Regions from separate parts of the Homo sapiens genome. Here all the other regions are linked to region 6. The links are contacts of gene promoters, found by promoter capture Hi-C in blood cells and fetal thymus (Javierre and others, 2016). All regions are on one chromosome and are shown on one strand. The core of a region is centred on a gene start or on the middle of the fragment in contact, and the rest is flanking DNA. Distances in the headings are between cores, read along the strand shown. Region 1 overlaps ZNF713 (zinc finger protein 713). Region 2 overlaps NIPSNAP2 (nipsnap homolog 2). Region 3 has its middle 7.9 kb from the start of ZNF713. Region 4 overlaps ZNF713 (zinc finger protein 713). Region 5 overlaps ZNF713 (zinc finger protein 713). Region 6 holds the start of SEC61G (SEC61 translocon subunit gamma).

Region 1 (4,300 bases), core at 345-2,844, 1.1 Mb before region 6:
AGACTAATACACATTGTGGAATAGCCAATTATCATATCTGTCACCTCACATACTTTTAAATTATTTGTGGTGAAAACATTTAAAATCTACTCTTTTAGTAATTTTGAAATATACAATGCATTATCAGCAAGACGCAGTGGCTCATGCCTGTAATCCCAGCACTTTGGGAGGCCAAGGTGGGTGGATCACTTGAGGTCAGGAGTTCGAGACCAGCCTGGGCAACATGTTGAAACCCCATCTCTAAAAGAAAAAAAGAAAGAGACAGAGAGACAGAAAGAAAACAATGCATTGTTATTTTATTATTTTAGTCATCATTCTGTGTAATAGATCACTAAAGCTTACCCCTCCTGTCTCACTAAAACTTTGTACCCTTTGGTCAACATCTCTTTAGCCCCCTCCCACACAGCCCCAGATTCTAGTAACAACCATTCTACTCTCTACAAGTTCAACATTTTTAGAGTCCACGTTTTAAGTGAGATCATAGAGTTTCTGTTTTTCTGTGCTTGGCTTATTTCACTTAATACAATGTCCTCCAGGTTCATCTATGTTGTCACGAATAATATAATTTCCCTCTTTTTGAAGGCTGAATAGTATTCCATTGTGTATATATACCACATTTTTTTTTTTTGAAATGGAGTCTCGCTCTGTTGCCCAGGCTGGAGTGCAGTGGTGCAATCTCGGCTCACTGCAACTTCCACCTCCCGGGTTCGAGCACTTCTCCTGCCTCAGCCCTCTGAGTAAATGGGATTACAGACACGTGCCGCCATGCCTGGCTAATTTTTGTATTTTTAGTAGAGACAGGGTTTCACCATGTTGGTCAGGCTGATCTCAAACTCCTGACCTCGTGATCCGCCTGCCTCGGCCTCCCAGAAAGTGCTGCGATTACAGGGGTGAGCCACCACGCCCGGCCACCACATTTTTAAAATCCATTCATCCAATGGACATCTAGGTCACTTCCATATCTTGACTACAGTGAATAATGTTGCAATAAACATAGGAGTACAGATATCGCTTTGGCATACCCATTTCAATTCCTTTGAATATATACTCAGGTCCTGGTGTGGTGGCTCACACCTGTAATCCCTGCACTTTGGGAGGCTGAGGTGGGTGGATCATCTGAGATCAGGAGATCAAGACCAGCCTGGCCAACATGGTGAAGCCCTGTCTCTATTATACATACAAAAATTGGCCGGGTGTGGTGTGGGGCATGTCTGCAATTCCAGCTGCTCAAGAGGCTGAGGCACAAGAATCACTTGAACCTGGGAGACAGAGGTTGCAGTGAGCTGAGATCGTGCCACTGCACTCCAGCCTGGCTGATGGAATGAGACTCTGTCTCAAAACAAACAAACAAAAAAAGAATATATACTCAGAAGTGGGACTGCTGGATCATATGGTAGTTCGATTTTTTTATTTTTTATTTTTTTGAGATGGAGTCTCGCTCTGTTGCCCAGGCTGGAGTGCAGTGGTGCCATCTCAGCTCACTGCAACCTCTGCCTCCTGGGTTCAAGCATTTCTCCATCTCAGCCTCCTGAGTAGCTGGGATTACAGGTGCCTGCCACCACACCCGGCAAATTTTTTTGTATTTTTAGTAGAGATGGGGTCTCGCCATCTTGGCCAGGCTGGTCTTGAACTCCTGACCTTGTGATCAACCCCCCCCCCCCCCTCGGCCTCCCAAAGTGCTGGGATTACAGGCATAAACCACCGTGCCTGGCTTGATTTTTTTTTTTTTTTTTTTTTTTGAGATGGAATCTCGCTCTGTCACCTAGGCTGGATGGAGTACAGTGGCACGATCTCGGCTCACTGCAAGCTCCACCTCCCGGGTTCACGCCATTCTCCTGCCTCAGCCTCCCAAGTAGCTGGGACTACAGGTGCCCGCCACCATGCCCAGCTAATTTTTTGTAGTTTTAGTAGAGACGGGGTTTCACCGTATTAGCCAGGATGGTCTCCATCTCCTGACCCTGTGATCTGCCCGCCTCGGCCTCCCAAAGTGCTGGGATTACAGGCATGAACCACCGTGCCTGGCCGATTTTTTGTTTTTTGAGGAACTCCTGTAGTTTGCTGTGATGGCTGTATTAATTTACATTCCCACAAACAGTGCATAAGCGTTCCCTTTTCTCCACACTCTCACCAATACTTGTTATCTTTTGTCTTTTTGATAATAAGCCATTCTAACAGGGGTGAGTGCTCTCTTATTGTGGTTTTAATCTGCATATCCATCAAGATCAGTGATAAGCATTTTTTCATTATCTCTGATGGCCATTTGTATGTTGTCTTTTTTTTTAGAGGTAAATGGGAAATTTTGAATTTAATTTTTTGTGAATGAGAATGTCTATTCAGGACATTTGTCCATCTTAAAATTGGGTTACTTGTTTTCTCGCTACTGAGTTCCTTATATATTTTGGATATTAGTCCTTGATATGGTTTGGATTTGTGTCCCTACTGAAATTTCATGTTGAATTGGAAGGTGATTGGATCACAGGGTGGATTTCCCTCTTGCTGTTCTCACGATAATGAGTGAATTCTCACGAGATCTGATGGCTTAAAAGCATGTGGCACTTTGCACTCTCTCCTCCTGCCATATGAAGAAGGTCCTTGCTTCCCCTTGGCCTTCTGCCATGCTTGTAAGTTTCCTGAGGCCTCCCAGTCATGCTTCCTGTACAGCCTGTACAGGAATCGTGAGTCAATTAAACCTCTTTTCTTCATAAATTACTCAGTCTCAGGTAGTTCTTCAGTAGCAGTGAGAACAGACTAATACAGTCCCATATCAGATGTATCGTTTGCAAACATTTTCTCCCAATCCTTGGTTTTTCTCTTCATTTATTGATTGTTTCCTTTGCCGTGTAAAAGCTTTTTAGATTGACGCAACCCTATTTGTTTACTTTTGCATTTGTGGTCATATCCAAGAAATTTTTGTCTAGACAAACGTCATGGAACATTTTCCTTTCTGAGTTTTATAGCTTCAGGTCTTCTGTTTAAGTCCTTAATCCATTTTGAGTTGATTGTCCATTGGTGATTAACTCTATCTTCAACCCCTCTCTTCTCCTCAGAGGTGGGGTGGGGTTTGGGGTTGGGGTTTAAAGTTCAACCCTCTAATTACATGGTAGGTTCCTTTAGCCACTAGCCTCCATCCTGAAGCTATGTAGGAACTTGGAGTCACCAGTCATCTCATTGGTTATGAATAGCAAAAGACGCTTCTATCATCCCTATCACTCAGAAAATGACGAGGGTTTTAGGAGCTCTGCGGCAGGAACTGGACATGAAGATCTACTCTATACAATGTCAATATGTCTACTATGTTTATGACGTCAATATGTTCACGATGTCAATATGTCTCATTAATGGTAATATGTCTCATTAATGGCAATATGTTTCATTGACGGTAATATTTACCATTATCACTTGGTCAAGGTGGTGTCTACCAGGTTGCTCTATGGTAAAAGTTACTATCTTTCCTTTTGTTGCTAATAAATATCCTGGGGGAAGATACTTTAAGGCTACCTACAGGACAGATGGACGCAGTGGCTCATGCTTGTATGCTTGTAATCCTAACGCTTTGGGAGGTGGAGGTGGGAGGATGGCTTGAGCCCAGGAGTTTGAGACCAACCTAGGCAACATAGTGAGACCTTCACTATGAAAAAAAAAGAAAAAATTAGCTGGGTGTGGTGGCGAGTGCCTGTAGTCCCAGCTATTCGGGAGGCTGAGGTGAGAGGGTTGCTTGAGCCTGGAAGGTCGAGGCTGCAGTGAGCTGTGATCATGCCACTGCACTCCAGCGAGCCATGATCACGCCACTGCACTCCACCCTAGGTGAAAGAGTGAGACCCTGTCTCAAAAAAAGAAAAAAAAAAAAGAAAGAAAAAAGACTATGTACATATCTTGCTTCTCAAACCCATTAATTTTAGCATCATCAGTGTATCTCATCTCATCTGCAACAATTATTAACGTGGTGTTTGCCTAATGGTGTTCTTCTATTTCCCTCTTACTAATTTAGTATTGGAATTTTTCCATAAGGAAAAACTGCTTCTTATCCCCTATTCATTTATTTATTAGATTATTTGCTTATATCTATAGAGACTCATGGATACTTATTTTATTCTATGAGTTAAAAGTCAAATACTTTTCTTATTTATTTTATTGCACAAATTGTTTCAGCTTTGGCCATTACGAGACTCCTGTGTTATTTCAACCAGGCTTTCTCCTTTCTTAAGCACTTTCTCACTTCTTGGCAATATAAGATGTTTCAGGCTCTAGCATTTTTCCTGCCCAGCCCTGGAATCAACCGTTTCTCCAAAGTGCCCTGGTT
Region 2 (4,266 bases), core at 1,767-4,266, 1.2 Mb before region 6:
CCAAGGTGCCACAGGGCACTGTACCCAAGGGAGACAGGGACCACCCCTGGGGCAGGGCGTTAAAACACAGGTGAAGGAAGCACACCTTCAAAGCAGCTGATGACTCTGAAATCCTGAGAAACACCCCTGCTCTCTGAACTACACAAGGGACTCTGCAACTTCTTGGATGCCATACAGAGGAACCATGGGAATGAAGCTTTCTGGTGGTACAGCCTCAGTAGTGCAGGCAAAGCTGCCTCTTGCTTTTTTTTTTTTTCTTTCCTACTAGAGCAAACCATTCAGAAAATGAGTACCAAAGGCATTCATTATGTACCAAATATGGAAGAAAGTACTAATATACATTGTGCCTCTGTGGACATCACACTATGATCAGTTAAAAATAGGCACTTGGCTTAAAACTTTAAGAATTTCCCACTGCAAAAGGTATCAGCTCTTTAATTTTTTTTGAAACAGTCTTCCTCTGTCTCCCAGGCTGGAGTGCAGCGGCGTGATCTCAGCTTACTGCAATCTCCATCTCCTGGGTTCAAGTTATTCTCGTGTCTCAGCCTCCTGAGTAGTTGGGGTTATGGGCACATGACATCACGCTCGGCTTTTTTTTTTTTTTTTTTAGATGGAGTCTCGCTGTTGCCCAGGCTGGAATGCAATGGTACGATCTTGGCTCACTGCAACCTCCACCTTCTGGGTTCAAGCGATTTTCCTGCCTCAACCTCCCGAGTAGCTGGGATTACAGGCGCCCACCACCACGTCTGGCTAATTTTTTGTATTTTTGGTAGGCATGAGGTTTCGCCATGTTGGCCAGGCTGGTCTCGATCTGCCCCGCTTCGGCCTCCCAAACTGCTGGGATTACAGGCATGAGCCACCAGGCCAGCCTACAGCCCTTTTTTTTTTTTAGACGGAGTCTTACTCTGCCACTCAGGAGTGCAGTGGCGGGATCTCGGCTCACTGCAACCTCTGCCTCCCAGGTTTAAGCTATTCTCCTGCCTCAGCTTCCTGTGTAGCTGGGATTACAGGTGTGCACCACCACGCCTGGCTAATTTTTGTATTTTTAGTAGAGATGGGATTTCACCACATTGGCCAGGCTGGTCTTGAACTCCTGACCTCAAGTGATCTGTCCACCCCAGCCTCCCTAAGTGCTTGGATTACAGGTGTGAGCCACTGCGCCTGGCTCAGAGCCCTTTCCTTTCATACTTGCACCACTTAAAAAAAAAATATTTAGTGATGCATCTGAATTCCTAAAAATGTTTTAAAATGTGCCCATTTTTTCAAAAGCAGTCTTCTAGAATCAAAGGTGAAAAGGAAGGGGCTTCAAATGACATAGGGAGGTCACCAGAAGACACATGGTTAAGGTCTATCAGGAGATGACACACCATGCATTACCCAGTAAATCCATACCACACTGCCCAGGCTCTGGCCTGAAGTCTCAGTCATATCAGGGTCCCACAGGTGACAAGACTTGGGAAGACAGATTCACTCTAATTCATTCAAAAGAGCTGGCAGCATATAAACAAGGATAGCAACCTACTAACAATGACAGTGAAAGATGTCACTCTCAAGGCACAAGATGCTTGAGTTGGCTTGGCTGAGCATTCTCTTCCTGGAGGCAAACTTCATATATACTGAATGATAACATCTCAAAAGGGGGAAAAAAATCCAAGAGTGATTTCCTGTGAGTGACTAAGCCAATCTCCTTTTTTAAGACAGAGACTCACTCTGTCACCCAGGCCGGAGTACAGTGGCATGATCTTAGCTGACTGCAGTCTGGAACTCTTGGGCTCGAGGGAGCCTCCTGCCCCGGCCTCCTGAGTAGCTGGAACTACAGGCTTGCACCACTAAGCACAGCCAATTTTTTATTTTTTATTATGTTTTTGTTGTTGTTGAGATGGGGCCTTGCTATGTTGCTTGGGCTGGTCTCGAACTCCTGGGCTCAAGCAATCCAGTCTCCTTAAAATCACTCTACACCTCTGCTCTAATCCACCATGGGCTCAGTGCCATGATGGGAACCTTACCCAAGCGCTTGGGTTCCTTTATGGTGAAAAAGGGACTTCTTGCTATTGCCCCCATGGATTATCCACAAATAAGATGACATCTTTAATCTTTACATTGAGAATTAAGTGATCAATATCTTCACAGAAATTATAAATCTGATTATTGAAATTAAGCAAATCACTTCAATGTGCATTCTAACTCTATTCAGAAGAAAAAAACCTGGCTTTCATTGATAGTGATAAATATTCCAGATTATTCATTTCATTCTGAATTTTTGTAATTTAGTTATGGTAGGCAAACAAAACATACTTGCCTTAGCCTGGTAACAATCAGAAGCCTGTACAGACGAGGTGGTCACCATCTTAGTTACCTATGTGCCAAAATATAAATTGAATGCTAAACTGGCTTTATAAATTATATATATATATATATTTTTTTTTTTTTTTTTTGAGACAGAGTTTCACTCTTGTTGCCCACGGTGGAGTACAATGGTGCGATCTTGGCTTGCCACAACCTCTGCCTCATGGGTTCAAGTAATTCTCTTGCCTCAGCCTTCCGAGTAGCTGGGATTACAGGCATGCACCACCACACTTGGCTAATTTTTGTTATTTTTAGTACAGACAGGGTTTCTCCATGTTGGTCAGGCTGGTCTCGAACTTCTGACCTCAGGTGATCTGCCCATCTTGGCCTTCCAATGTGCTGGGATTACAGGTGTGAGCCACCGCGCCTGGTCAAATAATTTTTTAAATAACTGAATAACCCCAGTATGTCCCTGTGGATTCCACGGCGAGCGAGTCTTGATCAGTAATGGGCAAAAATTGAACTAGTGAGTAATCCTATTCCGTGAGTAGCTACATGATTAACAACAATAGTCCAAAAACAAAAGAACAAAAATTGTATATAATAGTAGCATACAACCAAATATGTATTTCTTAGTTTTCAAATGAAAAGAAATTCTAACTTCCATTATTTAGCCTTTGATGATCTAAGGAGGAAAGGTTCATTAGAAATAAAGATCACAGAACTATTTGTTGGAGACAGAAGGGATCTTAGAAATTATTTCATGCACAGCAGGAAATTTCATAACCGAAAAAAGAGAAAAACTGGGGCCGAGCGCGGTGGCTCACACCTGTAATCCCAGCACTTTGGGATGCTGAGGCAGGCAGATCACTTGAAGTCAGAAGTTCGAGATCAGCCTGGCCAACATGGCGAAACTCTGTCTCTACTAAAAATACAAAACATATTAGCCAGGTGTGGCGGTGCACGCCTGTAATCCCAACTACTTGGGAGGCTGAGGCAGGCTAATCGCTTGAACCCAGGAGGCAGAGATTGGAGTGAGCCGAGACTGCGCCACTGCACTCCAGCCTGGGCAACAGAGCAAGACTCCGTCTCAAAAAAAAAAAAAAGAAAAAGAAAAAAGAAAAGATATAAGTTGAAGTTAAAAAAAAAGGCAAAAAGGTACAAGTTCTCTTTTCAAGGTGAGAGCTGTCAAGTAACTCAAACCCAGAGCTTTTTCTCAGCACCATGTGGCCTCCCCCTTTGTGGGTAAATAGTTATGAAATGCCAGCTTAGGAAACAGAAATAGCAAGCTGCCAAAGAAAAGTAAGAGTTAACATAATTACTTCAAAGAAATAAACACACACATCTCCCCCTAAAAACAAAAAACAGGCTAGGCACGGTGGCTCATGCCTGTAATCCCAGCACTTCGGGAGGCCGAGGCAGGCGGATCATGAGGTCAGGAGATCGAGGCCATCCTGGCTAACACAGTGAAACCCCGTCTCTACTAAAAAACACACAAAAAATTAGCCGGGTGTGATGGCTGGTGCCTGTAGTCCCAGCTACTCAGGAGGCTGAGGCAGGAGAATGGCGTGAACCTGGGAGGCGGAGCTTGCAGTGAGCCGAGTTCGCACCACTGCACTCCAGCCTGGGCAACAGAGCAAGACTCCGTCTCAAAAAAAAAAAAAAAGAAAAGAAACAAAAATTAAGGTACAGAAATATGTTAAGTTTCAAAGAAAAAAAATGCTATAAATCTTTTGTTGAATTAGATATAGATGTATGCTTCAGATTATTTTAGGAAACTATCCCAATGTTTCAAAATTATATATATATTCTGAGATGGAGTCTCACTCTGTCGCCCAGGCTGGAGTGCAGTAGTGCCATTTTGGCTCACTGCAGCCTCCATCTCCTGAGTAGCTGGGACTACAGGTGCTCGCCACCACACCCAGCTAATTTTTTTTTTTTTTTTTTGGATTTTTAGTAGACAGGGTTTCACCATGTTGG
Region 3 (4,201 bases), core at 1,438-3,937, 1.1 Mb before region 6:
AGTAGTCAAACTATATTTATTTGCAGATGAGAATACATATCCCAAATATATAGCAAATCCAAAAGAATCCATGAAAAAGGCTACTAGAGCTAATAAATGAATTCAGCAAAGTTGCAGGATGCAAGATTAACATATGCACAAAAATCCATTATGTTTCCATACAATTGAAATAAATAAACAAAAAAGTTAAGAAAGTAATTCCATTTACCATAGCATCTAAAAAGTAAAATACAGACTGGGAGCGGTGGCTCACCCCTGTAATCCCAGCACTTCAGGAGGCTGAAGCGGGCAGATCACCTGACGTCAGGAGTTCAAGACCAGCCTGGTCAACATGGTGAAACCCCGTGTCCACTAAAAATACAAAAATCAGCCGAGCGTGGTGGTGCGTGCTTGTAGTCCCAGCTACTTCAGAGAGTGAGGCAGGAGAATAGCTTGAACCTCGGAGGCAGAGGTTGCAGTGAGCCAGGATGGCGCCACTGCACTCCAGCCTAGGTGACAGAGTGAGACTCCGTCTCAAAAATAAATAAATAAATAAATAAAAATAAACAAAATAAAATACATAGGATAAATCTGAGGTGAATGGCTTATACACTAAAAAGAACACAACGTGGCTAAAATAAATTAAAGAAGGACTAAATAAACAAAGACATCATGTCATGGGTAGGAAGACTCAGTATTGTTAACATGTCAAGATTACTCAAAGTGATCTATAGATTCAACATAATTCCAATCAATATCCCAACAGCCTTTTAGGCAGGAATAAATAAGACAATGCCTACATCCATATGGAATAATTATAAAGGGCTCCAAATAGCCAAAAGCTTGTAAAGAATTACAAAGTCAGAGGAATCACACTTCCCATTTCAAAGCTTGCTTTTTTTTTTGAAGGGTTTTTGTTTGTTTAATACATCTGAAAATAATGCATACACAAAGAATTGAGACATGAGAAAGCATTGGTTCAACAATAATGAATCTACAAGAATTAGGATTGGGAAGGTGGAAAAGATTACTTCAACATTTTTAAAAATTAGAAACTGCAACCAAAATAAGCTGCTAAAATCCCTATTAACACTTATGGAGAGTCTTCATAAGACTCTTTCCGGCTGGGCGCGGTGGCTCATGCCTGTAATCCCAGCACTTCTGGGAGGCCGAGGTGGGTGGATCACCTGAGGTCAGGAGTTTGAGACCATCCTGACCAACGTGGAGAAACCCCGTCTCTAGTAAAAATACAAAATTAGTCGGGCGTGGTGGTGCATGCCTGTAATCCCAGCTACTCGGGAGGCTGAGGCAGGAGGATTGCTTGAACCCAGGAGGCAGAGGTTGCGGTGAGGTGACATCGCGCCACTGCACTCCAGCCTGGGCAACAACAGTGAAACTCTGTCTCAAAAAAAAAAGCCAGGCGCGGTGGCTCACACCTGTAATCCCAGCACTTTGGGAGGCCGAGGCAGGCGGATCACAAGGTCAGGAGATCGAGACCATCCTGGTTAACACGGTGAAACCCCATCTCTACTAAAAACACAAAAAATTAGGCGGGCGTGGTGGTGGGCACCTGTAGTCCCAGCTACTCGGGAGGCTGAGGCAGGAGGATTGCTTGAACCCGGGAGGCAGAGGTTGCGGTGAGGTGACATCGCGCCACTGCACTCCAGCCTGGGCAACAAGAGTGAAACTCTGTCTCAAAAAAAAAAGCCAGGCGCAGTGGCTCACACCTGTAATCCCAGCACTTTGGGAGGCCGAGGCAGGCGGATCACGAGGTCAGGAGATCGAGACCATCCTGGTTAACACGGTGAAACCCCATCTCTACTAAAAACACAAAAAATTAGCCGGGCGTGGTGGTGGGCACCTGTAGTCCCAGCTACTCGGGAGGTTGAGGCAGGAGAATAGTGTGAACCCAGTCGGCAGAGGTTGCAGTGAGCTGAGATCGTGCCACTGCACTCCAGCCTGGGCGACAGTGCAAGACTCCGTGTCAAAAAAAAAAAAGAGGCTTTCCATGATTTTTATTAAACTAGAGAGCCTCATCTGGCTGCTCTAGGGTTCCTCATATGCAAAACAGAAATAAGAGGATTCCCCTGACTGGCCCCCATGTTGTTAAGTGTTCTCCCCACCCCCACCCTACGCCCAGCTTCTTAATGAAGCAGGCCTCCATCCTCCTAACCTGAGAGGATGTGAATCATTCCACAGATGTCTGTCTTCTAGCACCACCCACCCCTCATATTTCCTCTACATACCAGTTCTTCAGCTGCGTTCTAGGAACACCATATACTACTGAGTTGCAAATCTATGCTAAGCATATAAGACAATGACTGACAGGAAAAAAATTTTTAATTACAAACTCAATTCATTCGGTGTATTTCAAAGGTGCAATACTTTTCTTCATTTATTAGTGAAAGAAGTTAGAAATTAACTTCCCCAAAAAATCAGCAAGTGGCAAACAAATGTCCTTGAAAGTCAGTCACATACAGTGCGTCCTAGAAAAGAGGAGGGGCAAGACAGGCTCCACCCACTTTCATGAGTTTCATCAAATACTGGATCTACTCTAGGGTGGAGAGAAAAGGCAACTTTCAAAAAGGAGTATGTTATTAAATGAGGCATTTACTATACTCCTTCCTAGGAGCGCCAGATGGGGAACATGTTTTCTCAACTAGATCTAGGAAGTGGAATGTGGAATCAATCCATCCTCCTCCGCTTAAGGGCTAACCACTGGTTAATGAATTAAAAAAACAAGACTGAGAAACAAACCCCACACACACTCCCCCCAAAAGAGGAGAAAAAAACCAACAACACTAAGATGTGCCAGATTACTCTCCAGAGTGGAACCAGGGAGCGGCTTCAACAATTGCAATTAGTTTGTTACAGAGTCATCCACAAGCATGCCTTGCTGTTTTTTTAAATTTGAAACAGTCTTGCTCTGTCACCTAGGCTGGAGTGCAATGGTGCAATCTCGGCTCACTGCAACCTCCACCTCCAGGGTTCAAGTGATTCTCCTGCCTCAGTCTCCCGAGTAGCGGGACTATAGGTGCCCGCCACCAAGCCCAGCTAATTTTTTGTATTTTTAGCAGAGACGGGGTTTCACCGTGTTAGCCAGAATGGTCTCAACCTCCTGACTTCATGATCTGCCCGCCTCAGCTTCCCAAACTGCTGGGATTACAGGTGTGAGCCACTGCGCCCGGCCCATGCCTTGCTTTTAAACAATAACAAAAAAATTTTTTGAAACAAAACAAAAACTAGTACTAATCACTTTTCTGACAATACACTATTACTCAAAATTAACTAGTCCTGGGAGGGGGAAGGGGGGCCATACCTATGGGCCTGTCTCACATGAGTGCATTTGCGTAGGTGCAGGGCATTTGTCATTATTGCAAAAATGAATTTTAATTTTTAATCTTCAGTTTGATTTAAACATTGCTTTTAGTGTGATGCTGACACCAGCTATGCAGAAAGGGCTCTGGAGAGATGTTCATAGCAGCACACACCTGTGGCTCTTCTTCGATTCTGGAGGCTCCAGCGCAGCCAATGTTGCTTCGTCAAATACATTCTTTAGGCCTTTCTGTGTGAGTGCAGAACACTCCACATACTTGACAATCTTCAGGTCATGGGCCAGCTTTTCAGCAGTCTCTGGAGTGATAGGCTTCTGTTTGTTCTTGGAAAGTTTCTCAATAGTAGAGGGATCATCTCTTGAGATCAGTTTGGGTCCCAGCAAGCAAGATTACACACATGAAAAATAAACACATGTTCTCTACAATGATTTTGTTATTTATGTTGTGAAAAGTTCAGAATAACCATATTACTTTTGGGTCCAAATTGTACTAATATCAGAACGTTGAAAATAAAAATGTACCTTTCTGGGTTCTCGTATTCAGGGAAGAACTGTTCTGCTGCAGGACTGTAATAGAAAAATTAAAATGATTTTTATAAAAACTAATATCTAGATGAACCATAACGAGTTTAGTTTCTTACTTTGAAACTTTGTGTGTTATTTAAAATGGGGACAATCTTTAATAAAATTAACTTTTTCACCTCGGCTTCCCAAAATGCTGGGATGACAGGTTTGAACCACTGCAACCGGCCTGTTTGCCTTTTGAGGAATGGCCACACTGTTTTTCAGAGCAGCCGCAACCCCCGCCAGCAATGTATGTGTTCCAGTTTCACCACCTTGCCACAACTTATATTCTGTTTTTGGTTTTTCAGTAGCCATCCTAGTAAG
Region 4 (4,199 bases), core at 1,344-3,843, 1.2 Mb before region 6:
AAATATATTCTCTATTTTCCTTTTTTTTTTTCTTTCTTTTGAGGCAGAATTTCTCTCTGTCACCCAGGCTGGAGTGCAGTGGTGCAATCTGGGCTCACTGCAACCTCCGCCTCCCGGGTTCAGGCGATTCTCCTGTCTCAGCCTCTTGAGTACCTGGGATTACGGGCGCAAACCACCATGCCCTGGCTAATTTTTGTATTTTTAGTAGAGACGAGGTTTCACCGTGTTGGCCAGGCTAGTCTCAAACTCCTGACCTCGAGTGAGGCCTTGGCCTCCCAAAGTGCTGGGATTACAGGCATTAGCCACCATGCCTGGCCTCTATTTTCCTTGTTACTGAAGGTAACAATGTTATCCAACATTTCTTCTTCGAGGGTCCTCTATCCTCCAGCTTCTAATAACATTCTCCTTACTATCCTTTGAGTTTTGACAAAGGCCCTTTAGTTTTCCATTAACTCGCCTTGAGGCCCTTTATTATTTCACTCGTTTTCTATCTTATCCCCAGTGCTCAGTTCCAAAGTCAGTGCCCTGTGGTTTAGGTTTCTGTTTTTGCAACACTCCACTTTCAGGTACTAAAATCCCTAACAATTATCTTGCTGCATAACAAACCATCCCAAAACTTGGGGGATTAAAATAGCAAGTATCATTTACTTTGCTCATAAATCTGCAATTTGGGCAGGACTAGGTGGGAAGGTTTGACTGGGGATTGGAGGATTCACTTTCAAGATGGCTTACTCACAAGGCTGGCAAATTGGTACTGGCTTTCAGCTGGGAGCTCGGCTAGGGCTGTGGGCCTTGGCTCCTCTCCATATGGGCTTCTCCATGGGCTGTCTGGGTTTCCTCCTGACAAGGTGGTCGGGTTTAGAGTAAGCATCCCAACAGAATGAGGTAGAAGTCTTACTGCCATTTATGATCTGCCTTGAAAGTCACAAAGCTTTGCATCCTCCAGTCACAGCCTTGCCGAGATCCAATGGAGAGCACACAGATCTCCACATCTATAATGGGATGAGTGTCAAAGTCACTTGCAAGAAAGCATTTGGGATGGGAGGTATTTTGGCCATTTTTCTGAAAATGCAATCTGTCACATTCACACCAGCAGTGTAAGAGTGTCTGTTTCCCCACAGCTTTGCCAACAGAATATGTTATACTTGTGGAAAATATCAAACTCATGGCAAATATCAAGCTTGGTGATAAAATATCCAGCTTTCTCTAGTTTTAACACAAATTTCCTCTTGTTTGCAGTACAGATGAACACTTTTCCTGTGTTTAAGATCCATTTGAACTTTATTTGCTGTGAACTGTCTTTAAAATTTTTTTTCTTTTTTTTTTTTTGAGACAGGGTCTCACTCTGTCACCCAGGCTGGAGTGCAGTGGTGCAAACATGGCTTACTGCAATCTTCACCTTCTGGGCTCAAGTGATCCTCTGACCTCAGCCTACTGTATAGCTGGGACTACAGGTGCACACCACCACTAGTCCCCCAGCTAATTTTTGTATTTTTGGTAGAGATGAAGTTGCACCAAGTTGGTCACACTTGTCTCAAACTCCTGACCTCAAGTGATCAGCCTGCCTCAGCCTCCCAAAGTGCTGGGATTACAGGCATGAGCCACTGTCCCTGGCCTTTTGTACCTTTTTCTGTTGGACTCCTAATCTCTTGCTGATTTAGAGAAGTATTTTATATATTAGAAAGATGAGACCACTGTAATTCGAGTGGCAAAATATTTTTTTCAACTTGACATGTCTTTTTACTTTGCTTATAGTTTGTTGTTTTTTTTTTTCCATGCAGATGCTTTTGGTGTTTTTTGTTTGTTTGTTTGTTTGTTTTGAGGCAGAGTCTTGCTCTGTCGCCCAGGCTGGAGTGCAGTGGCGCAATCTCGGCTCACTGCAAGCTCCGCCTCCCGGGTTCACGCCATTCTCCTGCCTCAGCCTCCCAAGAAGCTGGGACTACAGGCGCCCACCACTATGCCTGGCTAATTTTTTATATTTTTAGTAGAGACGGGGTTTCACCGTGTTAGCCAGGATGGTCTCAATCTCCTGACCTTGTGATCTGCCCACCTAGGCCTCCCAAAGTGCTGGGATTACAGGTGTGAGCCACTGCGCCCGGCCGCTTTTGGTGTTTTTAATGAGTTGAACCCATCAATCACTGTGATTAGAAAGTTTTTCTTTGGTGAAAGTTATAAAGGAATTCTCCCATTTTTTTCTTGCATAACTTTTTGTGGTTTCATTTTTCATATTTAAATATTTGATCCATTTGAAGACTATTCTGATGTGAAGTATGAGGTACAGATCCAACTTTATCTTTTTCCAGATGGTTTCCCAGAAATCCCAACATCAATTATTGAACAAAGCAGCTTTTTATCACTGGTTTGAGATGTTACCTTTATCATATGCTAAATTCCCCATGTGTTTAATGAATGGTTATTCAGTGCTTCCTATATATATGCCAGGCATGGTGCTTGGGATGTACCAGTGAATAAAAGAGACAAAAACTCCCTGCCTTTATGAAGCTTATATTCTAGGAAAGAAAGTAGACAACAAACAGCATAACTGGGTAAATTATATAGTATGTCAGAAGATAAAAGTAAAGTAGTGTAAGGGTTCAAGAATATGGGTGTGGGGCAGTTACAAATTTAAATAGCGTGGTCAGGAAAGATGGCACTGGAGAGGTGACATTTGAGAAAGAAGCTTGACAGGTTAACAGTGCAAAGGCCCCAGGGCCATGTTTAAGGAAGAAGAATGAGGCCAGGATGGCTAGAATGGAATAAGGGGAAGAAAAGTAAATGATGAAATTCGACAGGTAACAGGCCAGATTCTATAGGACTGTTTAGGCCATCTTAAGGACTTTGGGTTTTACTCTGAGTGAAATGGGAGCCATGCGCTTTGAGCAGAGGAATGACATGATCTGATTTACCATTACCAATAGTGCCATTTCCTGGGTTCCACTCTTTGAAGTCATCTTTTTTCTTCCTTTGCTTTTACCCCTTAGCTAATCTCTGCTGTTTCCAAAGGAAAGCACTCAAATCTCCCTCCTTTCCTCCAATGACTAGTTTTATGCTATTTTCTATCACTGAGAATGCTACAGTAGCTTAACTGGTTTTTCTCCTTTCAACCTCTGCCTCTCACAAATTCAGTTAGTATATAGCACCAGGATGATTTTTAATGTAGAATTGGATTACTTATTATGTTATCTTTCTGCTTAAATTCCCCCAAAGGCTTTCCACTGCACTCAGAGTAAAAGTCAGACCTGTTTTCATGGCCACAGGCTTTGTGTATTTAAGACCTGCTCACTTCTCCAAGCTCACTTCAAGTCATTCTCTCCCTCCTTCCACACCAACCACAGTGGTCTTCTTTTAATTTCTCAAATATACCCGTGATTTTTGCAGATGATTTTTAGCACATGTCCAAAATGCTCTTTTCCACTTACTTTTCGTAGGTTCTACTTATCTTTTCTTTCTCATCTTAAATTTCACTTCCCCACAGTTTCTCCCTGATTCCCTAATGTGTATTCATAGCACCCTGTTTTCATTTTGTTTAAAACACATCTCTTTTGCAATTTATTAGTATAGTTGCTAAATGTCTTTCAATAAGCTCCTTGGGTTTGGGGTCATGTCTATTTTTCTCAGTGATGTCTAGCTGATAAAAAGCATAATTTTTGTCACATATGAAATGACCAGTAGACCATAAGAAGAAAAAAGGAAAAGAAAAAAAACTTGTCACATACTAGCTACTCAAAAAATATTTATTGAGTGAATGAATCATCTTCCTTCTAAACATAATAAATGGTTCCAGAAAATTAAAACTAACTCCTTGGGCTAGAATGTGGAAAAGCAGACATGCCACTTATTTCTAGATGTCTTTCTATTCCTGTCTTTGGGGAGTCTTACAGTTAATTAAGAATAAACCAAATGGGCCAGGTGCGGCGGCTCACGCCTATAATCCCAATACTTTGGGAGGCTGATGGGGGCGGACTAGCCTGGCCAACATGGTGAAACCCCGTCTCTACTAAAAATACAAAAATTAGCTGGGCGTGGTGGCGCATGCCTGTAGTCCCAGCTACTTGGGAGGCTGAGGCAGGAGAATCACTTGAACCCGGGAGGCGGAGGTTGTAGTGAGCCGAGATTGTGCCACTGCACTCCAGCCTGGGTGACACAGTAAGTCTCTGTCTCAAAAAAAATAAAATAAAATAAAATAAACCAAATGAATC
Region 5 (4,365 bases), core at 411-2,910, 1.2 Mb before region 6:
TTTTTTTTTTGAGACGGAGTCTCACTCTGTCACCCAAGCTGGAGTGCAGTGGCACAATCTCGGCTCACTGCAACCTCTGCCTCCTGGGTTCAAGCAGTTCTTCTGCCTCAGCCTCCCGAGTAGCTGGGACTACAGGTGCGCACCACCATGCCCGGCTAATTTTTGTATTTTTAGTAGAGACGGAGTTTCACCATATTGGCAAGGCTGGTCTCGAACTCCTCACCTCATGATCTGCCCGCCTCAGCCTCCCAAAGTGCTGGGATTACAGGCATGAGCCACTGCGCCCAGCCACAAAATTAAGCTTTGATCAAAGATTTTACCAAGTGTAATTAACCATTACTTTTAAAAAGTACATACTTGGCTGGGTGCGGTGGCTCACGCCTATAATCCCAGCACTTTGGGAAGCCGAGGGCAGGCAGATCACGAGGTCAGGAGTTTGAGACCAGCCTGGCCAACATAGTGAAACCCCCCCCTCTACTAAAAATACAAAAAATTAGCCGGGCGTGGTGACAGGCGCCTGTAATCCCAGCTAATCAGGAGGCTGAGGCAGGGGAATAGCTTGAACCCAGGAGGCGGAGATTGCAATGAGCCAAGATAGTGCCATTGCATTCCAGCTCAGGCAACAGTGCGAGACTCCGTCTCAAAAAACAAACAAACAAAAAAGTACATACCTCTGCTGAGACGTCACCTTCGCTCACTCTCTCCCCTCCTGAAATCTGAGTGCCCTATATCCTGCCTCATTATGGCAAATGAATGTTAAATGTGGCTTTTTTTGGGTGAGGATGCTTCCAGAATTGATTTGCCCTGAAAATGCATCGCCACTGCACACGTTTGGACAAAATACTATTAGAAATCCTCCCTGATTACAGTAACTCAAGGTTTTATTAACTATTTCATACCTACTGTTGCATGGGACAAAAATGCTTTTGAAAAGTTTAATTTCTACAATGAAATGAGTTTTTTTGGGGGGGTTTTATTGTTTTTGTTTTTTAAAGTCCTTAAATCATTTCAGCTTTGACTCAGGGCCTACAAAATCTAGTCCTTTCTCGGGGAGAATAAATCAGGGAAGTCTTGAGCCAGGCTCAAGTTAGAAGAAAGATGAGAAAGCAAGTGGGCTGCACTCCTACCTTAACCTTATGTTTTCTTCAGCCATGCCTGAGAAGACAGAGGAAACCTGAAAACCAAGAAACTGAAGTGTCCCTATGCTTGCAGCTATTCCTGGTTTATGACCGTTTACATTTTGAATGCTTTAAAACATCAAATGTGGGGCCGGGCACGGTGGCTCACACCTGTAATCTCAACTCTTTGGGAGGCTGAGGCGGGTGGATCACCTGAGGTTAGGTGTTCGAGACCAGCCTGACCAATAGAGTGAAACACTGTCTCTATTATAAATACAAAAATTAGCCAGGCGTGGTGGCGCGCACCTGTAATCCCAGATACTCGGGAGACTGAGACAGGAGAATTGCTTGAACCTGGGAGGCGGAGGTTGCAGTAAGCCAAGATCAAGCCACTGCACCTCAGCCTGGGTGACAGAGCGAGACTCTGTCTCAAAAAAACAAACAAAAAACAGAAAAAAACATCAAATGTGACTTCTGTCAAACAAGGCAGCAATCATAAAAATCAAATGAAATCACCTTAAATTCTGATATATTATACTTTGGATATTTGTCTCTTCCAATCTCAGGTTGAAATGTGATCCCCAATGTTGGAGGTGGGGCCTGGTGGGAGGTGTTTGGGCCATGGGGGTGGATCCCTCATGAATGGCTTGGTGTCCTCCTGTGTTATTGAATGAGTTCTTGTAGGGAAAAGAAAGAGAGATCAGACTGTTACTGTGTCTATGTAGAAAGGGAAGACATAAGAGACTCCATTTTGAAAAAGACCTGTACTTTGAATAATTGCTTTGCTGAGATGTTGTTAATTTGTAGCTTTGCCCCAGCCACTTTGACCCAACCACTTTGATCCAATCTGGAGCTCACAAAAACGTGTTGTATGAAATCAAGGTTTAAGGGATCTAGTGCTGTGCAGGACGTGCTTTGTTAACAAAATGTTTACAAGCAGTATACTTGGTAAAAGTCATTGCCATTCTCTAGTCTCAATAAACCAGGGGTACAATGCACTGCAGAAAGCCACAGGGACCTCTGCCCTTGAAAGCGGGGTATTGTCCAAGGTTTCTCCCCATGTGATAGTCTGAAATACGGCCTCGTGGGATGAGAAAGACCTGACCGTCCCCCAGCCCGACACCCGTAAAGGGTCTGTGCTGAGGTGAATTAGTAAAAGAGGGAGCCTCTTGCAGCTGAGATAGAGGAAGGCCACTGTCTCCTGCCTGCCCCTGGGAACTGAATGTCTCGGTATAAAACCGGATTGTACATTTGTTCAATTCTGAGATAGGAGAAAAACCGCCCGATGGTGGGAGGCGAGACATGTTTGCAGCAATGCTGCCTTGTTATTCTTTACACCACTGTGATGTTTCGGTGGAGAGAAACAAATCTGGCTTACGTGCACGTCCAGTCATAGTACCTTCCCTTGAACTTAATTATGACATAGATTCTATTGCTCACATGTTTTTCTCCTTATTATCACCATGCCCTCCTACATTCCTTTTTGCTGCAATAATGAAGATAATAATCAATAAAAACTGAGGGAACTCAGAGACTAGTGCCGGTGCAGATCCTTGGTATGCTGAGCGCCGGTCCCCTGGACCCACTGTTGTTTCTCTATACTTTGTCTCTGTGTCTTCTTTCCTTTCTCAGTCTCTCATCTCACCTGACTAGAAATACTCACGGGTGTGGAGGGGAAGGCCACCCCTTCAAGTTCTCACTCTGGTAGTTCATGTGAGAGCTGAGTGTTTAAGAGGTTGCAACCTCCCCCATCTCTCTTGACCCCTCTATTGTCATGTAATATGCTGGCTCCCATTGACCTTCCGCCATAATTGGAAGCGTTCTGAGGCCATCAACAGAAGCAGACACCAGCACCGTATTTCCTGCACAGCCTGCAGAACTGTGAGCCAAATAAAGCTTCTTTTCTTTATAAACTACCCAGTTTCAGGTATTCCTTTATAGCAATGCAAACAAACTAATATGAATTCTTTTTGGAAAAAAGTGTTACAGATATATATTTCTTTTTTCTTTCTCTCTTTTTTTTTTTTTTTTTTTGAGATGGAGTCTCGCTCTATTGCCCAGGCTGGAGTGCAGTGGTGCAGTCTCGGCTCACTGCAACCTCCGCCTCCCAGGTTCAAGCAATTCTTCTGCCTCAGCCTCCTGAGTAGCTGGGGTTACAGGTGCACACCATCATGCCCAGCTAATTTTTGTATTTTTAGTAGAGACGCAGTTTTACCATATTGGCCAGGCTGGTCTTGAACTCCTAACCTCAAGTGATCCACCTGCCTTGCCCTCCCAAAGTGCTGGGATTACAGATGTGAGCCACCGTGCCCAGCCCAGATATATATTTCAATAAATAAAATAAATGATTAAGCCAATTAGACTACTTCGTCAGGTGTTTATATAAGCCACTGCAGCTCTCCTGATTCCCACCCTCAACATGGCACCAGGGCTCACCCGCAGGTACAGTTCCTCACTTCTCCATCTTCCACAGTGATACGGGGTGGCATGGGAATTCTTAGTCTCTGGTCATTATTTTACAAAATCCCAAAACTTCTGTTCTACAAATACAGCAGAAATAATTTTAACTGAAAAAAAATCTAGACTTGCCACAGGGAAATTTAAAGCTAAAACAAAATAGAAAAGCAGACTTCTCTGAATCAATATTTCAAAGTTCATCAATAGGACCCTCAAGTCTTCTTCAAGGCTCTTCTCAAAGTGATCCTAGGATTCATTTGATGAAAATAATGTCAAGATTGCAAAAAGAATCATCACAGGATATTGCCACAAACTATCACACTGTTTCTCAAACAACGGCACACAAGATTTTTGGGGGGACATCAACGAATATTTTTAATTTCAAGGTTATGTATCTATTTTGATGAAGAGTAGAATAAATTTAATTAGCATATAAAACTAGCATATAACTTATTTTATATGCTAAATAGTATTTCCTAGGAGAAGGCTAAAAATCTTGCATCCCTTTATAAAGAATATTAAGTAAATACTAGATATGGTAAAAACTGTAAAGAAAGCATACAAATAACTGACGTTCGTGAAATATTCCTCTTTTATGTTTATTTCAAGTTAATGTGACTGGCTGCACTACAGCATCGCCTTTATTTTTAAATTTTACTTTTTTTTTTTTTTGAGACAGTCTCACTCTGTTGCCCAGGCTGGAGTACAGTGGCGTGATCTTGGCTCACTGCAACCTCCACCTACCGGGTTCAAGCAATTCTTCTGCCTCAGCCTCCCAAGCTGCTGAGAC
Region 6 (4,425 bases), core at 1,325-3,824:
CTCTTCCTCCATCTCCCGCAATGTGAGAATGCAATGAGAAAGTAGCTATCTATAAACCAGTAAAAGCCTTCACAAGAACCTGACCATTATCTCTGACTTCCAGTCTCCAGAACTGTGAGAAATAAATGTTTGTTGTGTAAGCCACCACTCTATGATACTCTGTTATAGCTGCCCACGTTGACTAAGACCCCTGTGAAACCCTAAGACCTGTTAAATTACAGAGCATTACATTCACTCCCCAGTTCCCTCACCCGCCTTCTCAATATGTAGCCCCGGGCAAACACTGTTCTGATTTTTTCCACCATTCATTATTTTTGCTTTGTCTAAAATTTCTTGCAAATGGAACTGCACACTGTGCCTTCTTTAGCGTAGGCTTGTTTCACTCACCATGTTTGTCATTCATCAATGTTGTGGCAGAGAGTTTTCTTTCCTTAGCTATGGAGTACTATTCTGTTGTGGGACTATACCTGTATGTTTATTCATTCTATTGATGGTACCCTGTTGCTTTTAGTTCTGTTATCAATAAAGTTACTACGAACATTCCTGTACAAGTCTTTCTGTGAATTTAGTTTCATATATCTTCAATAAGTACCTGGAATTGGAATTGTGGAGCCATAGGTGGTGTATATATGCTTCATATTATGATAAACTACTAAACTTTTCCCAAAAGGGTTATGCCATTTTACACTCCTAGTAACCAGGAATTAGAGTTCTAGAGTTCTGATTGTTACGTATTTTTGCACAGATTTGCTGTTATCAGCCTGTTTTTTTTTTTTTTTTTTTTTACAGACGGAGTCTTGCTCTGTTGCCCAGGCTGGAGTGCAGTCGTGTGACCTCAGCTCACTGCAACCTCCACCTCCCGGGTTCAAGGGATTCTCTTGCCTCAGCCTCCTGAGTAGCTAGGGTTACAGGCATGCGACACCATTCCAGACTAATTTTTGTATTTTTAGTGGAGACGGGGTTTCTCCACGTTGGTCTGGCTGGTCTCAAACTCCCGAAATCAGGTGAGTAGACAATTATAACAATACACTGTAATGAAAGTTATTTGAATGTGGCCTCTCCCAGATTACCTTCTGGTACACATCTCTTTTTGAACCAGATTTTCTTGGATAAGGGGAACCACTGTATGTGTTACTTGATTTTCTGTGTTTTGCTGAAAATACTGTCAACTCAGACATTTGGTGGTTGGGGTGAACTTGCCAACATGTGATTTTATGTTTTTTTGGAATGAATTATTTTTTTGAAAATTATTTATTGAGCATTTACTGTGTTTAGCACTTTACTAGATGCTATATTATACCCACTTGGAGCTTATGGTCTAGTAAGGGGATTTACAGTGTAGGGAGACAGACCGAGGAATAAATAAATAAATGTTAATACAAATGCTATGCAGCAAATGAAGAAGGTATTGTGAAAAAGGAAAAAAGAGCATGAGATAGACAGGATTGCCTTAGATGGTCACTATAGGCCTCTAAGGAGATGACACATGGGCTGAAGTCCCAGGGATGAAGAACTAGTCAAACGCATCTCAGTCTGTTCAGAATTTAAAAGTGACTCTTAAAGCTAAGGCAAGGTATGTGTAGTGTGTATGGACCACCTACAGTCAGATATACGGAGGTGTGTGACCTCTAACCCTGACCCACTGAATCAATATCTGGAGGTTCTGGGGTTACAAATTTCATTTACTAAAAAACTTAACAGGAGATTTCAGTTACTGAAGAAGTTTAAGAAGCACTGAGAGTTGTAACACGTCTTAATGTTCCATCAGCTCTTCCTGAGTTATATTGTTCCTCAGATCCCGTTATGCTCCATTGCTAAAAGGAAACATGGCCGGGCGCGGTGGCTCACGTCTGTAATCCCAGCACTTTGGGAGGCCGAGGCGGGTGGATCGCGAGGTCAGGAGTTCAAGACCAGCCTGGCCAATATGGTGAAACCCCGTCTCTACTGACGGTTTCAGCCATCCGGCGGGGGGTTCCTGGAATGCATCCTTGTGGGTAAGTGGGGAGCTGTGTGTACATTATGACCACTCCCGTAACCAAACCTAGCGTTTGACAAAGGCCTCAATTACAGCGGCATTCATTACCGTGAATGACAGCCAAAGTCAAAGTTTGGGGTGGGGATACTATTTTGAATTAGGCCATAACATTATATTGCTCATAAGCTTCATTTCGACCAACATTATATACATACAAAAAGTATGTACCGTAAGGACACACATCAAGCTGGACCGCAGGAAAAAAAACCACAACTTAGGATTTACCTAGTCAGCCGCTACTAGAGAGCAAGCACCGCGCAAGGCCGCTGGGGCTCGTGCTGTGGACGTGAGTGGGTTGAGGTCGGGCTGGTGGGGTAACCCGGGATCCAGCCGGAAAAAAGGGATAACGCTAGACTCACACTCCTAAGGAAGGCCAACGCCCCAACTAGCGAGCTCCGCAATGCATCTCTTCCAGGAAGCGTGGCCGGGCGCACGTCGCGCTGCGCTTGCGCACTGAGGTTTCGCGTAAGGAACCAATAGGACGGAGGAGTGGGCGGGCTGTTGGCAGAAACCCGGATTCCGGTTCCGGTGGGCCTCCATCAGCAAGCTCCAGTGCTACGTGTCCCTGGCATTTTAGGTGTCGGTTGGGTAGGTGAGTTTCTTCCCACCGGTCGGTACGGGCGAACGGGGCGGCCACACCTTTGCGACTCTTGGGGGCAGCGGGCGTGGGCGAGCCGGCGTGTCTCCCCGGGCGGCCGTCGCGGGGCGGGCGGTAAGTGGTCCCCTGGCTCAGGGCCGGGGTCTGGCCGCCGACATCCCACCAACTCGGCCTCTGGCGGAAGGCAGACCCAGGGCCGCGGACTCCCGGCGAGCTGGGTGGCCGGCCCGCGGGGCTCCAGGGCTTAGCGTCCTGCCCCGGCGTCTTCTGTGCTGCAGCCAAAGATGATGTCCTGCTGCCCGATCCCTTCGGGGTTGGCTCTGTGTGCTGTTGTGGAGTCCTGTCTGGGAAGAGCTGTACTCAGCTCTGGTCCTGCCGCCGCTTCCGTGGTTTAAAGTGAGAGCATTGGTCTAGAGTCTAGTTCGAGAGATCATAGTTGGTTTTTGGATCTCTACCCCTGACATTGAGTGCGGTATTGTGTGTAGCGTGCGTTTTTCTGGATAAAGAATTCTTAGCTTCCTTCGTGACAACTATGATTACAAAAAGTTTAAGCCCTTTGGATTTCAAGAGCAAAGTTGAGTGAAATACTGAGAAAACAGACATTACTGTGTTTTTGCCCCCAGAACGTTGCAGAATTCCTGGTGTTTCATTGACATTATTTCATTTCGTTGTCCACACCCTACACTAAGGAAGGCAACTGGGGCTTACAGAGGTTTACATTCCATAGCCAGTGATTTGAACTACCACCTGGCCACTGTTCTGAGTACTGGAAATGGAGGAAAATACAAATAACACCCTGGCTGCTTTACTTACTATAGCAGTGGCTCTCAAAGCTAAGATCGGATAACATTTCTATTGGGTAATAGATTCCTCAAAAGAACCTGTATGGTAAAATATATAGCCCTGTTTCCTTAAAAGATGTGTTCAAATCGAAAAGTTTGAAATTTAGCTAGTAGCTTCTCAGAATTTGCGTCTTCCTTTAGCCATTCTTTATACTTTAGAAAAGTATGTTGTATTGGCACGTTTTAGAAAAATCAAGGTTGAAATTCACGTTTGCCTCTATTCTAGGCTCTTGCAGCACCGTAGTTGGCATTCACTGTACAAGACACTGGCTTCTGCGTAGTTTAAAATAAAATATGGAAAGTAATTGTTGGATCTCAACACTGATGGTTCCTTAGGAGCGGTGAGGGGACTGTAGAATGAGAAATGGATGGGACTGCAGAGTGAGAAAAGGAATGGATGTGTTACCAATTGCGTAACCTTTTTTAACCTTTTAATAGAGATAGGCTTTTTATATTGCGTGTGCTGTTCTTTGTCAGTGAAGATATCATGAGTAAGATCTGTGCTTTTCTTATTGCCTTTGATAATTAACTGAAATTTCCAAAAATAATATCAATTTAGGCTTTGGAGTTTGTTTTTTGTTTTATTTTAGGAGGTGGAATTGACCCATGTTAGACGTGAATTCAGTGGCTGGTCTCATTTACATCTTTATATAAATGAGCAAGTGCTTATTGTATGAGAACCAATACCAGTGAGTATCTTTTTTGTTTTAAACAGGCAGTCATGGATCAGGTAATGCAGTTTGTTGAGCCAAGTCGGCAGTTTGTAAAGGACTCCATTCGGCTGGTTAAAAGATGCACTAAACCTGATAGAAAAGGTAATTGCTTGACTATGAGAGAAAAAATTAAATCTTTGCATTTTCTAAGCCTTTTGTTTGATTAACATCTTGATTAATAGCCCTTGCATTACTTTGATCAACATTTTTATTGATTGATCCTGCGCGACAGCTTTT

The links. The method cuts DNA at HindIII sites, captures the fragments that hold promoters and counts their contacts. A CHiCAGO score of 5 or more calls a contact.
Region 1: a contact is called between a fragment that was not itself captured here and the fragment with the promoter of SEC61G in region 6, in 4 of 17 cell types (total CD8 T cells, total B cells, total CD4 T cells and 1 more). The highest score is 7.2, in total CD8 T cells.
Region 2: a fragment that was not itself captured here is called in contact with the fragment with the promoter of SEC61G in region 6 in 1 of 17 cell types (naive CD8 T cells); the score reaches 6.7 in naive CD8 T cells.
Region 3: a contact is called between a fragment that was not itself captured here and the fragment with the promoter of SEC61G in region 6, in 10 of 17 cell types (total CD4 T cells, total B cells, naive CD8 T cells and 7 more). The highest score is 10.3, in total CD4 T cells.
Region 4: a fragment that was not itself captured here is called in contact with the fragment with the promoter of SEC61G in region 6 in 3 of 17 cell types (naive CD8 T cells, total B cells and activated CD4 T cells); the score reaches 6.3 in naive CD8 T cells.
Region 5: a fragment that was not itself captured here is called in contact with the fragment with the promoter of SEC61G in region 6 in 4 of 17 cell types (naive CD8 T cells, total CD4 T cells, activated CD4 T cells and 1 more); the score reaches 8.5 in naive CD8 T cells.

Annotation. Positions count from the first base shown.
Region 1 is chr7:55,896,796-55,901,095 of GRCh38, reverse strand. The region is part of intron 1 of ZNF713 (zinc finger protein 713); the gene reads right to left. Among named protein-coding and RNA genes, the nearest start is that of ZNF713, 11 kb to the right of the region's middle. The HindIII fragment of the contact is 2,510 bases long and covers 340-2,849 here.
Region 2 is chr7:55,989,918-55,994,183 of GRCh38, reverse strand. All of the region lies in intron 7 of NIPSNAP2 (nipsnap homolog 2), which reads right to left. Among named protein-coding and RNA genes, the nearest start is that of NIPSNAP2, 27 kb to the right of the region's middle. RefSeq lists a silencer at 1,461-1,661. The HindIII fragment of the contact is 5,635 bases long and covers 199-4,266 here.
Region 3 is chr7:55,877,421-55,881,621 of GRCh38, reverse strand. It overlaps the pseudogene LOC101409255. Among named protein-coding and RNA genes, the nearest start is that of ZNF713, 7.9 kb to the left of the region's middle. The HindIII fragment of the contact is 3,632 bases long and covers 872-4,201 here.
Region 4 is chr7:55,914,835-55,919,033 of GRCh38, reverse strand. All of the region lies in intron 4 of ZNF713 (zinc finger protein 713), which reads right to left. Among named protein-coding and RNA genes, the nearest start is that of ZNF713, 29 kb to the right of the region's middle. The HindIII fragment of the contact is 178 bases long and covers 2,505-2,682 here.
Region 5 is chr7:55,941,336-55,945,700 of GRCh38, reverse strand. It overlaps ZNF713 (zinc finger protein 713), which reads right to left. Exons shown (of 7, transcript NM_182633.3): 7 at 3,476-4,365. Among named protein-coding and RNA genes, the nearest start is that of MRPS17, 8.4 kb to the left of the region's middle. The HindIII fragment of the contact is 2,713 bases long and covers 304-3,016 here.
Region 6 is chr7:54,757,360-54,761,784 of GRCh38, reverse strand. It overlaps SEC61G (SEC61 translocon subunit gamma), which reads left to right and starts at 2,574. Exons shown (of 4, transcript NM_014302.4): 1 at 2,574-2,627; 2 at 4,191-4,290. The coding sequence starts at 4,197. SEC61G-DT (SEC61G divergent transcript) reads right to left here and starts at 2,472. Exons shown (of 3, transcript NR_110040.1): 1 at 2,261-2,472. RefSeq lists an enhancer at 1,436-2,371 and a silencer at 2,605-2,924. The HindIII fragment of the contact is 2,422 bases long and covers 2,164-4,425 here.